2 separate regions of the Homo sapiens genome follow, and region 1 is linked to region 2. Evidence: promoter capture Hi-C in 16 types of primary human blood cells and fetal thymus (Javierre and others, 2016). All regions are on one chromosome and are shown on one strand. Each heading gives the region's core, a stretch centred on a gene start or on the middle of the fragment in contact. The rest is flanking DNA. Distances are from core to core; before and after follow the strand shown. Region 1 overlaps BUB1 (BUB1 mitotic checkpoint serine/threonine kinase). Region 2 holds the start of CKAP2L (cytoskeleton associated protein 2 like).

Evidence for each region. Contacts are between HindIII fragments. The CHiCAGO score rates a contact against its expected background, and 5 or more counts as called.
Region 1: a contact is called between a fragment that was not itself captured here and the fragment with the promoter of CKAP2L in region 2, in 1 of 17 cell types (fetal thymus). The highest score is 5.4, in fetal thymus.

Annotation. Positions count from the first base shown.
Region 1 is chr2:110,665,949-110,669,207 of GRCh38, reverse strand. BUB1 (BUB1 mitotic checkpoint serine/threonine kinase) reads left to right here. Exons shown (of 25, transcript NM_004336.5): 7 at 1,359-1,411; 8 at 1,503-1,687; 9 at 2,794-2,945. Among named protein-coding and RNA genes, the nearest start is that of SNORD132, 9.3 kb to the right of the region's middle. The HindIII fragment of the contact is 295 bases long and covers 1,313-1,607 here.
Region 2 is chr2:112,763,309-112,766,750 of GRCh38, reverse strand. It overlaps CKAP2L (cytoskeleton associated protein 2 like), which reads left to right and starts at 2,142. Exons shown (of 9, transcript NM_152515.5): 1 at 2,142-2,189. The coding sequence starts at 2,153. RefSeq lists a silencer at 1,763-1,922 and an enhancer at 2,373-2,512. The HindIII fragment of the contact is 4,243 bases long and covers 1-2,855 here.

The DNA of each region.
Region 1 (3,259 bases), core at 211-2,710, 2.1 Mb after region 2:
TCCCCACCAGCTTTTCCCTTACCAATGTCCTTTCCTCTGTTCTGCTGGCCTCTGCATAGGCTCTGGAAATCCCTACTGGGAATGGATCCACCTGGGGGCTTCTGAGCCTGGCTTTCAAAACTCAGAGCCTCAAAGATTGCTGCCTGTTACCTCAAGTAACAGGGAGGTCTCATACTCCCAGGCAATGGGTCATACTCCCAGGCAATGGGACATGCTTCCAGTGTCTGATTCACTCTTTATGTTTTGTGTATCTCTTATGTTTCCAGGTTCACTCTAGCGCCAAACTATAGTGATTTTAGACTTCTTTTCAGTCTCTTCAAACTTGGGACCTCGCTACCTCTAGCCTCTCTCTCAGGAACTTCAAAAATACTATTTCAACAGATAGCAGATGCCATCAAGTGACATCTATCAGTTTTCTGCCACCAACCAATAAATGTAACTGCATCCTTCCCTGTGAGAAAAGGTGGCCTTCTATCTGTGCTTGTCCTTATCCTCATCAAGGTTTTTGCCCTGTGGAGATCTCTTCTGCCTCCATGGTGTATCAACATGGGAAAATGCTCAAGTCTCTCTTCTTCCCTCAGCCTCATGTTTCCCAACTATGTTTCCCATGTTACCCTCCACAGTACAACTTTCTTTCAAAGTTCATCAAGGACCTCCTTGAAGCAAAAGCCAATGGAAACGCCTGTGTGCTTAGGGTGTATGTACAGGTTTCATTAATGTAATACATTCTTAGAAGTAGAATATGCGCTCCTGACTTTGACAGGTAGTGCAGCTTGTCCCAATTTACATTTTACGTCCTACACATGCTTGCCACCCTCCTGACCACCTATTGTCCTGTCTAAGCTCCAGACAGTAGAGATGGGTCTTGATTGCAGTCACATTTCCCAGACCTAGCTCAGAGTGTGACATGGAGGTGTCTGGCAAATATTTGTTTAGTGAAGGAATTTGAGAACTCTTGAGGGCAGAGTAGTACCTGAGGAAAATTTTAATTAAAAAAAAAATTAGCAGCAGTTGGGAATGTCAATCCCATAATGTTCAGACACTATACTCTAGCTACTAGACTATGAATTGAAGGGAAATCAGCTATGGTTCTTCTCTACTGCTGAGTAGGACTTTATTAAAAACAAAACAACAACCAAAAAAACCTCTTTCTTTGATTAGATTAAGTTACAATAGTTATTGTAAGGTTGTTGATACAAACAATCTTTTGATATTAATCATAATTTAAAATTACATAAATCTACTTGGGATTAAGGTCCCTCTTCCCCTCAAGCATTTTCATATTGTTTTGTGAAGTAATTTGGGTGAAGCTTTCTTCTCAGATAAGTGAATGCTCATGTTTGTTTTCTGTTTTTTAGGGTTCAGAGCTTTCTGGAGTGATATCTTCAGCTTGTGATAAAGAGTCAAATATGCAAGTATAATCAGTGCATTAATCTATTATTAGTTTCCTTTAAGTGCTCTTAGGTACATTGTTGTAAATAATGTATTTTCCCCCATTGTAGGGAACGAAGAGTGATCACGATTTCTAAATCAGAATATTCTGTGCACTCATCTTTGGCATCCAAAGTTGATGTTGAGCAGGTTGTTATGTATTGCAAGGAGAAGCTTATTCGTGGGGAATCAGAATTTTCCTTTGAAGAATTGAGAGCCCAGAAATACAATCAACGGAGAAAGCATGAGCAATGGGGTACTTGCAATCTTGTATTTTTAGTTATTCTTATGTCACATAAAAAAATCCTCATCTCTGAGTAATTACTTTTTTAAAGAATAATTGACTATGTTGAAAGACTGCAAGAAAGTCTTCATCTCATCCTATCAGAAGCCCAGAAATCATTATTAACCCATTTTGCGTTTGCCCCGAGAAAACTGCGCTGGCAGCAAGCTGCACTTTTTTTTTCTGAATTGGAAATTGCTTAACCACTAGTGTAGCAGCCAAGTTAGTCCAAGGACTAAATTGATGTCTTGGCAGCAAACTCATAGTTGAAAGAGTACTAAATTAGATATCCATACCAGTGTCATCTTAGCTTTAGTGAAATAAATATTTAAAAATTTTTCAGTATTATCTGTATATAGTAATTCTAAACCTCTAGGTCAGTTATTTGAACCTTTATTCCACTCAGGACTTTTATACTATCTAAGTTATTTGGGCTATAGCCATTCTGGGCCTTTCTTTTCTGTTCATTACTTTTCATACTCGGTTGACAACAGAGAAGACAAGTCAGTTAACACAGAGGACTCATTTTGTGCTGGGCATAGATGTGTTTTTCTTTCACATGCTGTGACCAGAAGTTTTAAGCCAGACTCTTTGACTTGCCTGTGGCATGACTCTGTTAACCAGTTGTTGGAAATGGGACTGACCACAGCATGCTTGAAGCCCTGATCATTTAGTGCAGTTCACTTCTACTTAGAAAGTCTCTAGAAATTTTTATCTTATAAAAACAAATAAAAATTTATTTTAAAATGATTTGCACAATCATGATTGTTTACAAGAACAGTCATGTATATGATGGCTACAAAAATCTTTACTATTATACTGTGCTATTATTATTATTTTTGATCAGCATGTAGTTTTTTTTTTTTTTTAGTAATTTACATGTCCTAAACATGTAGTAGCCAAGCTGTGGGCAGGTAAAAATTAAAAGGTAATACAAGTTTCACTTCTAAAACCAAATATGAGAAAGACTAATAAAAAAATCGGCCCCCTAAAATATAACCCTTTCCTCATTTTGCATGTATTCCTATGATGACCTGGATTTAAATTTTGCATGCAAACCATTTCTATCTTTCCTAAAGTAAATGAAGACAGACATTATATGAAAAGGAAAGAAGCAAATGCTTTTGAAGAACAGCTATTAAAACAGAAAATGGATGAACTTCATAAGAAGTTGCATCAGGTGGTGGAGACATCCCATGAGGATCTGCCCGCTTCCCAGGAAAGGTCCGAGGTATGTTGTGCTCCTCATGACACATCCTGTGCCCAGCAGCAGGAATGGCAGTTTGATTTGTTCCTTTCTATGTGCTGTTTTAGAGTTAATTCTGATGTTAATTTAGCTAGTAACTTTCTGAAAGTCTAAAATAATTTGACATAGACGTTCACAATGTAGAGTGAGAGTGGAAAGTTACAAAACAGAATGGTAGTATGTTTTACATGTTTGTGTATGTGTACATGTCTATATATTCATGTATTTATATATAGACCTTTTTCTGGTTTTTGTACAGTGACTATTGTGTAATGAAAATTGGAGTATAGTACTCTCAA
Region 2 (3,442 bases), core at 893-3,392:
CCTAGGCTCAAGCAATCCTCTTGCCTCAGCTTCACAAAGTGCTGGGATTGATTACAGACATAAGCCACCATGCTTGGTAGAGTTGAGAATTTTTAAACCTGCCTAGCTATTTTCCCACATTTTGTGTCCTACAAAATAGACCGTCAAATACCCAAAGGATGGAAAAAAACGAGGCAGAACTGGCCTATGTTGCTCCAAAGGACTAGGACCAGTAAGCAAGGAAGCTCATTTGAGTTCATTTTAAGTTTCCTAATAAGCAGGGGTCTCCAATAACAGGACAGGTAAGGCAGCTCACCAACACCAGCAGTATACCTGCAAAGGTGCAGTACCTACATGGGGTCTGTGGAATACTCCAGCACTGCGTGGGATATCAGGCAAGGTGACTTCTACAACTGACATGCATTCAACCACCTAGATTCTACAAAGACCAAAACAAAACCGCCTTCACTTTTCTGAAACTGTTGGTGAAGGAGTCCCTTTCTCAGTCATTAACAAAAATAATGATCAGTTTTCCTATTTTAAACATTTAATACACTATTGAAAATATCAAAATGCATAAATCCAGAAACCCTGGCTCTCTTCCAAACTCCCTATTTACGGCTAAAGAGAAGGGCTGCTGCAGTGGCTTCATGCCCTGCTGAGTACCCAACTGGTAAGCTGAACCTGGCCAACAGGTGCCCAGATATGACTGCCCCTCCACACACGACTTCTCCAGCATCCATGGAAGAGGAACCTTCATACACAAGGAGCCAAAAGCATTTTCCAGACCTCTTTAAGAAACTGGAGAATAGATGAAACAGGACAAACTTCAAAAGAAAAAAAATTTAGGATTAAAACAAGGGGAATGAAGTGTGTCTAGGGATTCAGGACAACGAGGCCTGCGATCTCCTAGTAACTAGGAGAAACTAGGCCTGCGTTTCTCCGTTAGCCTTATGGCCTTATAGTCAGCTGATCAGGTGAAATCGAAAATATACCTTGAACAAGAGATCACCGTGAGAGGAGTAAGGCAGTTTCTCAAAAAATTAAAAATAGAATTGCCGTTTGATCCAACAATACCACTTCGTGGTATATACCCAAAAGAATGAAAAGGAGAGTCTCAAAGAGTTATTTGTGCATTCATGTTCATATTATTATTCACAATAGCCAAAAAGTGGAAGCAACTCAAGTGTCCGGAGAGGGATGGACCAAGAAGCAAAATGTGGCATCTCCACACAACGAAATGCTATTCCCCCTTAAAAGGAAAGGAAATTCTGACACATGCTACACATGGATGAACCTTGAATACTTTATGCTAAGTGAAACAAGCCAGTCACAGAACAAATACTGCATGATTCTACTTATATGGCACCTACAGTTGTCAAATCCATAGAGACAGAAACTAGAATGGTGATTGCCTGGGGCTGGGGGAGGGAGGAGTGCGGAGTTAGTGACGGGTACAGGGTTTCATTTGGGAAGATGAAAAAGTTCTGGAAAGGACAGTAGTGGTGGCTGTGCCACAATGTGAGGGTACTTAATACCACTAAACTGCACATTTTTGAAAAATTTAACACTTTAAAATGGTTAAAATGGTATATGTGATGTTATGCATATTTTACCACAATTAAACGAGCCACCCTGCAGTACTAAGAACTAGGAGCCTTTAGATGCATAAGACCCATATGTCCTCTTTATAATATTATTTTTTCACAGCTCCTGTGAGTCTGAGACTTTGAAAGGACAGAATCAGGTAGCGGCCCCAGCATCCTGGGAGGACCGCCCTGTCTCTCCGCCCAGGGACTCCCGGCGCGCCAACCCCAGCTGGATTCAGCGTAACCGCCCCCCAACCACCAGCCCGGCTGAGGCCCCCACGGAGGGTCCCACGCCCACTCGGAGGCGCACTCACAGGCGCACTCAGAGGCGGGCGGCGCCGCGCCCCGAGGAAGCCGCCCTCAATGCCGAGGTGCGCTGCACGTTCTTCCAATCAAAGGGCCCCAAGGTCGGGTTCTCAAGGCCAGAGCCAACCGCAAAGAGCCTATTGCCTGTTGTCCCGCCCTCCCGTGCTGACGACTAGCGAGTTTCAAACCCGCAGGAGCCAATGAGGACGCGTGGACGCGCGGCACGCCGGTCCTGGCTACAGGCGCGGCGTTTGAAGAAAAACTGTCACTGAAGAGTCATGGTGGGGCCCGGGCCTACCGCTGCTGCCGCTGTCGGTGAGTACGACCGCTGTTCCCGTTATTCTCAGGCGTTGGAACACGGCCGGGGAAGTAGGAGGCCACCGAGTGAGTTCGTCCCGCGGGAGGTGCCCGTCCGCTCGCCTGCCTAAGTTTCCCCTGGGCGTTTTCCATCCCGGGAGCGCAGACGGGACCCCCAGGTAGACGTCTGGGTCCTGGGCGGGGGAGGCTGTGCGCAGGCCCAGATACCTCACGGGCGTATTTCCAGAAAGCCCTGCAGCAGCCTTGCAAAGAGATGTCATTGTCACCACGTTCCGGATAAAGAAACTGAGGCCCCTTGCTCGGGTTTTCACCAGCAGTGGGAAGCTGCGCGCTGTTTTGATCCACATTTGGCTCCAGGCAGAGCCGGGCGTGGTCCTCTGTGCCAGGAGGCGGGGTCTGGCCGAAGCCCGGGTCTCCTGCCTCTGGCGGGGCTCTCACTCCACACCTCTCAGCCTGCGGTGGTTAGAAGTTGATTGGTTAAATCTGCACCCAGGGCTAAGGCTTCTGCGTTCCCTAATCTCTTAGATGTGCTTGGAGCCCTTTCCTACCTTTCAAAATACTCCTGCTCAGATGCCACTTTCTCCAAGATACGCACCGTTGTTTTGTTTCATCCATTATTCCTGTTGATGCCTACGAGGTCCTAGGCACTTTACATAACAAGCTTTAAAGATGGCATTTCTGTCCGCCTTATAGGCTTAGCAGCAGCAAAGTTTGCTAATTTGCTAGAAGTCACGGAGGTGGGACTCCAACCCCCTATGTCAGCCCCTACGCTCTACATTGCCCGCCAAGCTGTCTCTAAGGATAGATACATGAGCATCAGAGAGCAAAACAGGGCAACTCCGTTCAGATGAGGTTAAGAGTCGTTTGGCACCCCTGTCGTCTTTTTGTCTTCCTTCACATCATTATTTACTTTTAACCTTTTCTAGCCACCTACTCCCCTCATTTATGCCCTACCTCTGAACTCCCATACTTCTTTTCGTCTCTTATGGCCCTTAGATTTTACCTTATACTGTAATTGTTGCTGTGTTGATTTTATCTCCACTACTAGTTTGAAAGTTCTTGAAGGCAGAAATTATTGACTTGTCATCCCCTCACAAATGGCTTGCGTAGAAAGTCACCATAGTATAGGTGTCTGCCGTGAGCAGACCGGGCGTATTTTATCCTTAGTACCAACAAAGGAAGCCATATAAGGGTTTGTGGGTAAAAATCATCATCCCTGTAAAAAAACAAAAGACGTAAGACCAGGCCTG